2 separate regions of the Homo sapiens genome follow, and region 2 is linked to region 1. Evidence: promoter capture Hi-C in human tissues and cell types (Jung and others, 2019). All regions are on one chromosome and are shown on one strand. Each heading gives the region's core, a stretch centred on a gene start or on the middle of the fragment in contact. The rest is flanking DNA. Distances are from core to core; before and after follow the strand shown.

What was found. Contacts are between HindIII fragments. The study calls those that stand out against the background at their distance.
Region 2: a fragment that was not itself captured here is called in contact with the fragment with the promoter of KIT in region 1 in 1 of the 25 tissues and cell types used here (H1 embryonic stem cells).

Annotation. Positions count from the first base shown.
Region 1 is chr4:54,654,769-54,660,247 of GRCh38, forward strand. KIT (KIT proto-oncogene, receptor tyrosine kinase) reads left to right here and starts at 3,189. Exons shown (of 21, transcript NM_000222.3): 1 at 3,189-3,313. The coding sequence starts at 3,247. RefSeq lists a silencer at 2,474-2,768. The HindIII fragment of the contact is 17,872 bases long and covers 1-5,479 here.
Region 2 is chr4:54,338,668-54,344,146 of GRCh38, forward strand. The region is part of intron 1 of LINC02283 (long intergenic non-protein coding RNA 2283); the gene reads left to right. Among named protein-coding and RNA genes, the nearest start is that of LINC02283, 8.5 kb to the left of the region's middle. The HindIII fragment of the contact is 8,366 bases long and covers 1-5,479 here.

The DNA of each region.
Region 1 (5,479 bases), core at 1,939-4,438:
ATATTTTCAAGTTCGAGATTTTAGCTGTGTTAGTTGTATTTGTGTGGCATTATTACTCTTTCTTCTGTTGATGGTGCATCAGTTTTTCTTTGGGGATGCACCCTTCCCCATCTCAGGCCTCTGGTGTGAAGTGGATCCCTGACCCCGGCTTCAGGGGTGGGCACATGACTCAGACATGGCCAATCAGCATACTCCATCCCTCTGGCTCCTTCCCAATGGGCACATGACTTAAGCCAGGTCAGTGAGACTCGGTTTCTCCCATAAACTTTTACAGGAGATGTTTATGGGGGCAGGAAAACTCTACTTCCGTTGGTACTAGTGAGCTGTAAGCCTAGAGCTGCCCTGAGTGTATACAAGGTTGGCAAAACAACACAGGAAAGTATTGAGGATAAAGGTGGAGGAAAGTGTACGTGCACTTGTGCACACATGCATCCACACACACTCGCCCTTCAAGTCCTGATAACTTTGAGTCCTTGGATCTAGGAAAGTCTGAAACACTATTGTCCCTGGACTTTCTGGTTATAAGAGCCAATACATTTAGGCTTCTTTGTTTGCTTGCTTAATTTAAGCTGCTTCTATAAGTTGCAATCGAGAGTCCTTGCTAAAAGAATTATGAAAACAATGAAATACATAAAGCACAATCCCTGAACATGCCCAGGACTATCACAAAATACAGTATAGAATTAATCCATACATCCTACCTGAGATATAAAACATTTCCATCATTGCCAATGTTCCATTGGACACTGCTGATCTATAATATAGTTCCTTATATATTACAGCATATATGTCCACTCATAGTGCCTTATATATATGCTTCCTTTCTTTATGTAACAGGCAGTGGGTATTATTAAAAACAGCTAACAACCCTAAAGGTACAAGTACTGGAGGCTCTCTGTTGTGGCCAGCATTAAAATTTTAATTCCTGGATCTAAGGAGATTTAGCGTGTCTCAAGGTTGGGCTGGGAGATATTTTAGGGTATGGTTTTTTTTGTAATCAGTACAGAAGGATTTCAATATTGTGTCAACCAATAAGGCCAAATTGGTGTGTACTGGCTGAACATAAGCTCTGTTAGCAGATATTATAGTTTCTTACTTGAGTACCTATTTTCCCTGCTGGACTGTGAATTCCCCTAGACAGAGACTTTGTCTTACTCATTTATGTGGGTCTTATGCCTACCTAGGTGCTCAAAAGATATTTGCTGAATGAAAAACAGGAATGACGGTCCAACATGGTATAACTCCCTATTCAGTTTTTTTTTTTCCTGATAGAAGTTCCGTGCCTAGAATTAAATTGCAATATGGTCTCTTTTCACCCACTCTTTTGAAGATGTTATCCTCTCCAATATCAGCTGATTGAAGAAGAAAATTGTAAATTTTCTCTCTCAGGCATAATGTTGATATTTTAACTCATAGTGATTTTTTCTCAATACAAAATGAATTTTAGAAATAAATCAAGATCCCAGAAACTTATGATTGCTTTGAGTGGTATCTTTTATCTGTCATCCTAAGAAAAACATGAGATCTGATGGCCCAGAGCACAGAGACCTTTGGTATTTCAGTTCTCCTACAGCCGCATGACTCGAACCTTTTGCTGGGAGATTGGGATGTAGGTCCCCATACTTGATTATAAGGACTGTGAGGGCAGGGGCCACATCTGCATATCTGTCTATTAATAATAGTACTCCTGGTACCTAGCTCCTCCTTGCTTCACAGCAGACACTAAACAAATGCTTGCTGAGTGAGTAAATACTTACATTTAAAGAGAGGCAATTATACACATTGATCATTTGATCACCCTCTAGCACTGATAATTTTTAAGTGATTAGCTTTAAAAATCATTTTTCTTACATCAACCTGGGTCCTCACACTATTAAACAACAGGAGAGCTTTCAATATTAAATGAAGTGGGGCAGCTGGGCAACTGTAAATTTTGGATGATACTTCAGAGAAGAGTCTAGGTGTATCTGTTCTATCCCTTTTTCTGATGGGCATCTGCCATTTATTTTTCCATTCTTAAGCTCTCAGGAGGGATGTCTTATTAGTTTATCAGAATGCATAGGGAAAGCTCATCTTTCTTGGAGTAGGTCTTCCAATAAGTGTTCAAGCCCTGGGTCTTCCCTCACTACAATAATAAACATACCTGCTCTACCCTCCTCACAAAGCTGTTATCGTGAGCATGAAAAGACGAGTCGCTGTGGGGAAGAACTATTAACCCCTATACAGATACTGTTGTTGCTTTCCGTTCAAGGATCCACCATGAGACTGTGGGTAAGGCACTTTCTGGGCAGTGAAATCGGGCTTAAGAGAATCATTGTACTTTTATTTTGCTCCTGGGACCGGCAAGGGCAGTTAAGAGCCCTAGCCCTAAAACTGTCGTCTGTTACAGAGGCAGAGAAATCATTACTGGGGTTGGCAGCGTTGGGGGGAGGGGGGAAAACGTGTATGAAAACCTGGGCTCCCAGAGCAAACTTCGCCACGCGCCCTCCATCGCCCCTGTCTCCACACAAGTCCCGGCAGGGGCTTCTTGGGCGGAGGCCACGCCGACCAATAGGAACCCACTGTGTTCCTACAGGTTACGAAGCAGGTGGAGAAATTGAGCAGAAACAATTAGCGAAACCGGGCTCAGCCTTTACCGCGGTGCCAGGAGCTCCTAACAGGCCTGGAGGGGAATGTCGGGGCTCAATTTCCTAACGCTCCCCTCCCCATCCCCATGCCACCTCCACGAGCAGCGGCGTCCAGCCTCCTCCCGCCCGAACGTGCTCGAGGGGCGGGCAGTCGACCTTTATTGTCTGGGGAGCACCTGGCAGGTGGCGGGCCCGTGCCCTAACGTGTGCGTGGTGCCCAGCTTCACAAAGCGAGCGGGCAGCACCTCCTTGGTCCGGGAACGGCCTCAGCCTGGCCGTCCACATCCCAGGGGTGGAAAGGTGGAGAGAGAAAGGGGCTCCGGAGTCAAGAGCGGGGAGAGAGGGCGCGCGCGCCCTCCTCCTCCCGGCGGGCACGGCCCCCCGGCATTAACACGTCGAAAGAGCAGGGGCCAGACGCCGCCGGGAAGAAGCGAGACCCGGGCGGGCGCGAGGGAGGGGAGGCGAGGAGGGGCGTGGCCGGCGCGCAGAGGGAGGGCGCTGGGAGGAGGGGCTGCTGCTCGCCGCTCGCGGCTCTGGGGGCTCGGCTTTGCCGCGCTCGCTGCACTTGGGCGAGAGCTGGAACGTGGACCAGAGCTCGGATCCCATCGCAGCTACCGCGATGAGAGGCGCTCGCGGCGCCTGGGATTTTCTCTGCGTTCTGCTCCTACTGCTTCGCGTCCAGACAGGTGGGACACCGCGGCTGGCACCCCGACCGTGCGACTACTCGGCGAAGCCTGTGCCTGGGAGGGTGGTACCCGCCAGGGTGCATCCGGAGAGAGGACTGCGGGCCCTCAGTGCCCGTGCGTTCCAGCCTCCGGGGAGACTCCAGGTGGCCCTCGGACTCTCCGGCGCCCTGCCTCGCTCACCTGCGCGAGGAGACCCCAGCTGCTGGTGGTGGGGGACGCGAATCCGGGGTTCTTCGGGAATGGGGACAGCAAGAGGGGGTTAGGCGTGAGCGAGGCTGCAGGCTCCGTGCGAGTTTGGGGTGGCTTTTGTGCCGACGTTGCGCGGGGGGCGGAGGCGGGGGGCTCAGGGGTTTGCACCGAGCGCCTTCTCTTGCCGTGCGAGGCGCGGCCGCAGCTTCCTTTTGTTAAAAGTTGCGTGTGTGTGACCGGCGCCCGGGAGGACCTGCCTGCAGGTTCTCCGCCGCGCTGAGGGCAAAGTTAGAGAGCCCTTTCTCTGCTCTGCGGCTACTGCCTTCCAACCGCAGGCGCTCTTTGTGCCCAGAGCTGGGGACCGACCCGCTGCCGCCTCTGCTCGCGGCGCCACCCGTGGAGACCAATCGAAGGCTGCGGCGTTTCCCCGCCTCCGGGTTAGGCTTTTGCGCTGGGAGTGCGCGGCGTGGGGCTGTTGTGGGGCCGGACTCCCGCGAGCCTGGAGGTGGTGGCGACAGGGACAACTTGGGCAGGGCGTGTGGAAAGCAGCCGCTAGGTTGCAGACTTTTTGCTTTCGTACATCCCGTGCTCGCCCCTTTCTGCCGCGGCGCCGTTTCATTCCTGCCGCGCGCCCCGGGGCGGCTGGAGGCTGTGTTTGCCGCCTGCTCCGGGAAGGCAAGGGACAGCGTGCTGGGACTCTGCGTTCCCTGACTCCAACCGCCTAGCACGCCGGCCAGAGTGCCCGGCCTGCCTGGCGGGTTCTGAAAGCCCCTAGTTCCCGGTGTCTGCGACCTGTATTCGCAGGTCCTGTTTTCTTCGGAAATTTTTGAGATTCGTGACCGCCCGCCTCCCCGCCCCCGGGACTTCTATACTTCAGGGCTGCCTGGGGGTGGGGTGGGAGATGGCGTGGAACTTTCTGCAAATCCTACTCAGTTCTTAAAGCTATAACAGAAATCCAGGTATATCCGCGCGGGAACTGGGTCTTAGGTGAAGGATTTGCAGGTTGCTGGAGCCCCTTGGTCAGATTCCTGCCTCCCGTTCCCTTTTTTCCAGGTGTCGCTGGTGCGGGCGAGTGCAGGTCGCCCAGCTCACCCCTGAAGCCCTGCTATCTCCCAGGTCATTTTTTAAAACAAACCTTTAAGGTTACCCTGATGATGTAAGGATAGAAAGTGAGTCTTAGCTGGAATCAAGCGCTTGAAAGGAAGCGGCGCAATGAACGGTTTTGAGACTGTCGACTACCGGTCAGTTTCTCTATAAAGTCTCCAGGCGCAGTCTGCAGCGTCCTGGACTTGTAACTATTGTGAGGGCTTTCCTGTGGGGGGCAGAGAGGCCTTGCATCTGGACCCCTGTGCAGCAGGAGGGGTCAGCAGGGGTCACGAGGGAGTGTTCGGATTCTCTGGAGGATTTGATCACCTAGCTTAAAACAACACATCTGGTCTTTATGTTTTTGTGCCTTGACCTTTTTAATATCAGTTAAGCTATGTGAACTAGAACCTAGTAGGAGACTAGAAAGACCACATCGAATATCTCCCTTTTAAAAAATTAAAAGAATCAATGGTTTTCTTCTCCCCAATAGATTTTTGGCAAAGGGAATTTTAAGGTCTGTCTCCTGGGGGGGCAGTGTGGTGTAACGACAAAGCCTTGCTCTGTCCCCTGGGTTCTCGGTTTCTCTGCCATTTCTTGGCTGCGTGCCCTTGGCCAGGTTGCTTAGGGCAGGTTGCTTAAATTCTGGGAAACGCAGTGTCCTCCAGAGTACAAGGAGGCATCTGCATCATGAAGGATCCTTTGGGTCCAGAATTCTCCTCCAATGTTCTGAGTGTAGACTCAGCACTCTTTTTAACTATTCCCCTGGCCCCTGTCTGCCTCTTTGAAATTCCTCTGCCTCTCCTGCTCACAGGGAAGTCATAGAGTATGGGTGCATCTGACCGGTCTGCCCCTGACTGAAGCAAGGAGCTGTGGCTTATGCTTACTGCCCTT
Region 2 (5,479 bases), core at 1,306-3,805, 320 kb before region 1:
CTTTTCAAACCAGAGAGAAGTTTCATTTGAGAGGCTGTTGGCCCAAACAGCCTGATTATCACTCACAGGGCTGATATAGTAATCTTCAGCCAGGGGGAGTCTGGCAATATCACAGAAAGGACAATTTCTCTCCTTGACTTGTAAACTGTTCACCTTCAGGCTGAGTGTGGTGGCTCAGGTCTATAATTTCTGCACTTTGGAAGGCTGAGGTAGGAGAATCGTTAGAGTCTAGGAGTTCAAAACCAGCCTAGTGAGACAACATAATGCAACATAGTGAGACCCCATCTCTAAAAATTTTTTTAAAAAATTAGCCAAGCATGGTGGTGCATGCCTGTAGTCTCCACTAATTGGGAGGTTGAGGTGGGAGGATTGCTTGAGCCTGAGGATTGCTCGAGGCTGCAGTGAGCCATAATTGCGCCACTAAGCTTCAGCCCAGGCAACAGAGGGAGACATTGTCTCAAATAAAATAGAATAAAATAAAATAATTAAATTGTTCACTTTTGGTCAGAGACTTTGAACATCAAATCAAATAAAAATATTAGTAATTTATTCAAACTCAGAATCCTAAGATGTTAGAGAAGCCACTGCTGTCGTTTATGAGGTGGGGGCAGGGATGAGACGGAGGAACTGGTGGAATGGAGAAGGGGGTTCGGGTGGGGTTCTGGGTGGAATATTAATACTGGTTAAGGACAAGCTTCCTCCCAGGTGCTTTACATGTGTGATTTCATCTCAACCTTACCATAGTCCTGTGAGGTAGGTAGGGCCATCCCCATGTGAAAGATGAGAAGATCAAGGGTGCAAGTGGTTCAATACTGCGCCCACAGTGACACAGTTCACAAATGGATGTGTTAGGATTCCTTCTTCAGTTCTCAGTGGTTCCCCAGCCCACATAATTCCTACTGCACCAAAAATGCAGGTTCAATTTAAGAGATGTCAACAAGCTGTTTTTGGGGGCTCTCAGGTACACCAAGAACTGAGCAAACAGTGGCCTAATAGGGACCACATATACTTCCTCCATTTGCTGATATGGGTTTGATATGGGCCCAGTTCTTCCAAATCCTAAAATTATAAGAAAATAGGGATATCAGTGGCAGAATAAATTGGTATATTTCAGAATGTCAATTTTCCAAAATGTAGTAAGAGACTCAAAAATCTTTTTATCCTAGAATTCCACAATTCTTCAAGGAAAATATATAATCAAGATCATGCACGAAGCCAGGTGCAGTGGCTCATTCATGTAATCCCAGCACTTTGGGAGGCCTAGGTGAGGGGAATGCTTGAGGCCAGGTGTTTGAGACCAGCCTGGGAAACGTAGTAAACCCCATCTCTACAAAAAATAAAAATTAGCCTGGTGCGGTGGCATGTGTCCATAGTCCCAGCTACTCGGAAGGCTAAAGTGAATGTATTGCTTGAGCCCAGTTCGAGGTTGTTGAATTCCAGATAAGGATGGCCATTGTAGTTATACCTACAAAATAAAAAAGAAAAAAGGAAGGCAGGAAATCCAGTAAGGGATTTAAAAAACTGTGGTATTTTTATATAATGGAATGTTATGCAGCCTTTACAAATCACTCTTTGGAAAAAACATATAACATAATAACAAGGAAATGCTGAAGATATATTTTTAAAGTGCAAAGAAAAAGCATATACTCTTATTCAAGCTTGGCTACTTTATCCTTCCCTTGCTACCCCACAGTAGAGCTAAGATACAGCTCTAGCATTTGACTGGACCATATTATAGGTTTAGGGAAAATGAAAAATACAAACAGAAAGAGTAATAAGAACTAGAAAGGCTGGCCTGTGAATCGCAGGTTATTCATATTCAGCTGTGACTCCATAAGGAGATGCCTCTTTCTCTGACCCTGGTGATGGGCAAGGGGCATGGTTAAGCCTCTGATAGGAGAGTATCTTTGGGAGTGAGAAATAACCAAGTCTCCTCATCTGCCCAAAAGGCCCATATTCCAAGTTTCAGCCTCCTGTCTGCCCACCTACCTCTTCCTGAATTATCAATACAGGGAACACCCAGCTTGTCTGGAGAGGACCACAGGACTATAGATTGGAGGTGCCAAGAGATCAAACAGCATCAGAATGGGCACATGAAATACAAAAACTACTTTTAGTATATACCAATATAAAAATCTTGTTTCCCCCAGGTAAATGGAAGGAAGCATCAAATCAAACAAATCAAGACTATAATCTGAAAGGCTAGAGCTTTGAATTGTGTTGATTTCTAAAAGAATGGCTTGTTAGCTCAAAGTAGCAAATAATTAATGGAAATTCTGTGTCCTCCCTTAAGAGTCTAGACCAGCACTAGTCCAATAGAAATATAATAAAAGCACCTATATAATTTAAATTTTTTTAGTAGGCACATTTAAAAAGTAAAAAGAAACAGGTGAAACAAATTTTGTATTATATGCAATTAATAACATGTTATTTAACCCAACATATCAAAAATATCACGTTATCATATAACATAATGAATTATTAATGAGATATTTTATATTCCTTTTTGGCATCAAGTCTTGGAAATCTGGAGTGCATCTTACATTTATAACGTATCTTAATTTGGACTGGCCACATTTCAAGTGCTTGGTAACCTTGTGGGGCTGTGGCTACATGTTGAATACCAGGTCTGGACTCTAAAATAAACCTAAATAGAAATTGGAACTAGAGGATCATGGCGGATGGGAGGCAGGACTAGATTGCACCTCTGGAGAGAGCAGCGTGTGGAGGCTTGCATTGTGAATTTTAGCTCCGGATTGACTGCAAGAACAAACCAGCAATCCCGAGAGGACCCACAGACCCTCTGAAAGAGGTGGACTACTCCTGCAGGACCGGGGAGACACTCCAAATACTGTGAGTGCCCCAACTGCAGAAGTGGGAAAGGTAGACCCTCTTCTCCCGAAAGCACACCCCCATTGGAGAAGCTGAAAGTTTGTTTGCGGGAGAAGTTTCCGACTTTACCTGGAACTGAGTCAAGTTAGACAGCTGAGCAAAATACAGGGGTAGAGGAAGCAGCAGAAAAGCCCTGGGAGCTCGCTGGGTCCCCAAGCAGCCAATTCCTGACTGGCACCACGGGGATCCATAGGGAGGGCGGCCAGAGGGGCAGGTGGTAAAACTCCACAGGGAGAAAGAATTCTCTAGCTGAACTTTGTAACAATTGGAACGGGCGGGAAGCCTCCTGGCCAGAACTCGGGGGAGGGTGCAAATCTGGAGTACAGACTTCATAGGCAGGGGAAGAACTTAAGCCCTTTTTTTCCCCCACAGCTTGGAGACAGATAGCCTCAGGCAAGTTTTCAAGCCCTTCTCGCCCTCTACCTGGAAATATACTCAGGGATACTGGTTGGGGGTCACGGTGGAAGTAATACTGGCCGTTCAGTTTGCATGGGAGCTGGGTGAGGCCTGTGACTGCTGGCTTTACCCTGCTTCCCTGACAACCTGCAAGACTCAGCAGAGGCAGCCATAATCCTCCTAGGTACACAACTCCAGTGACCTGAGAATCTCACCTCCATCCCTGACAGCAGGTGCAACAAGATCCACCCAAGGAGAGTCTGAGCTCAGACACACCTAGCCCTGCCCCAACCTGATGGTACTTCCCTATACACCCTAGTAGTGAAGACAAAGGGCATGTAATCTTGGGAATCTAGGGCCCAGCTCACCGCCGGTTCCTCTTCACACTACTGCAGTTAATGCTTTCTGGAAAGCACCACCTCCTGGCAGGAGGCCAACCAGCACAAAAATAGAGCATTAAACCACCGAAGCTAAGGACCCTCTCAGAGTTCATTGCACCCTCCAACACCTCCACTGGAACAGGTGCTGGTATCCATGACTGAGAGACCCATAGATGGTTCACATCACTGGATTCTGTGCAGACAACCCTTGGTACCAGCCTAGAGCCAGGTAGACTCGCTGGGTGGCTAGATTCAGAAGAGAGACAACAGTCACTGAAGTTCGGCTCACAGGAAGCCACATCCATAGGAAAAGGGGAGAGTACTACATCAAAGGAACACCCCGTGGGACAAAAGAATCTGAACAACAGCCTTCAGCCTTAGACCTTCCCTCTGACAGAGCCTACCCAAATGAGAATGAATCAGAAAACCAACCCTGGTAATATGACAAAACAAGGCTCTACAACACCCCCAAATAATCACACTAGTTCACCAGCAATGGATCCAAACCAAGAAGAAATTTCTGATTTACCTGAAAAAGAATTCAGGAGGTTAGTTATTAGGGTGATCAGGGAGGGATCGGAGAAAGACAAAGCACGATGCAAGGAAATCCAAGAATAATAGAAGAAGTGACGGGAGATATATTCAAGGAAATAGATAGCTTAAAGAAAAAACAATCATAAATTCAGGAAACTTTGGACATACTTTTAGAAATGCGAAATGCTGTGGAAAGTCTCAGCAATAGAATTGAACAAGTAGAAGAAAGAAATTCAGAGCTCAAAGACAAAGTCTTTGAATTAACCCAATCCAACAAAGACAAAGAAAAAAATAATAAGAAAATATGAACAAAGGCTCCAAGAAGTCTGGGATTATGTTAAACAACCAAACCTAAGAATAATCAATGTTCCTGAAAAAGAAGAGAATTCTAAAAGCCTACAAAATATATCTGGGGGACTAATTGAGGAAAACTTCCCTGGCCTTGTGAGAGACCTAGACAACCAAATAAAAGAAGCACAAAGAACACCTGGGAAATTGACTGCAAAAAGATCTTCACCTAGGTACATTGTCATAAGGTTATCCAAAGTTAAGATGAAGGAAAGAATCTTAAGAGCTGTGAGACAGAAGCACCAGGTAACCTATAAAGGTACATCTATCAAATTAACAGCAGAGTTCTCAGCAGAAACCCTACAAGCTAGAAGGGATTCGGGGCCTATCTTCAGCCTCCTCAAACAAAACAATTATCAGCCAAGAATCTTGTATCCAGTGAAACTAAGCATCATATATGAAGGAAAGATACAGGTCTTTTCAGACAAACAAATGATGAGAGAATTTGCCATTACCGCCACTACAAGAACTGCAAAAAGGAGCCCTAAATCTTGAAACAAATCCTGGAAACACATGAAAACAGAACCTCTTTAAAGCATAAATCACACAGGACCTATGAAACAAAAATACAAGTTATAAAGCAAAAACCAAAAACAAAAAAACAAAAGTACACACATAACAAACTTTAAAGCAACAATGGTAAAAAGAGACAAAGAGGGACATTATATAATGATAAAAGGCCTTGTCCAATAGGAAAATGTCACAATCCTAAACATATATGCACCTAACACTGGAGATCCCAAATTTATAAAACAATTACTAACAGACCTAAGAAATGAGATAGAGAGCAATATAATAGTAGGGGACTTCAATACTCCACTGACAGCACTAGACAGGTCATCAAGACAGAAAGTTAACAAAGAAACATTGGATTGTTTCTTGGAGCAAATGGACCTAACAAATATATACAGAACATTTTATCCAACAAC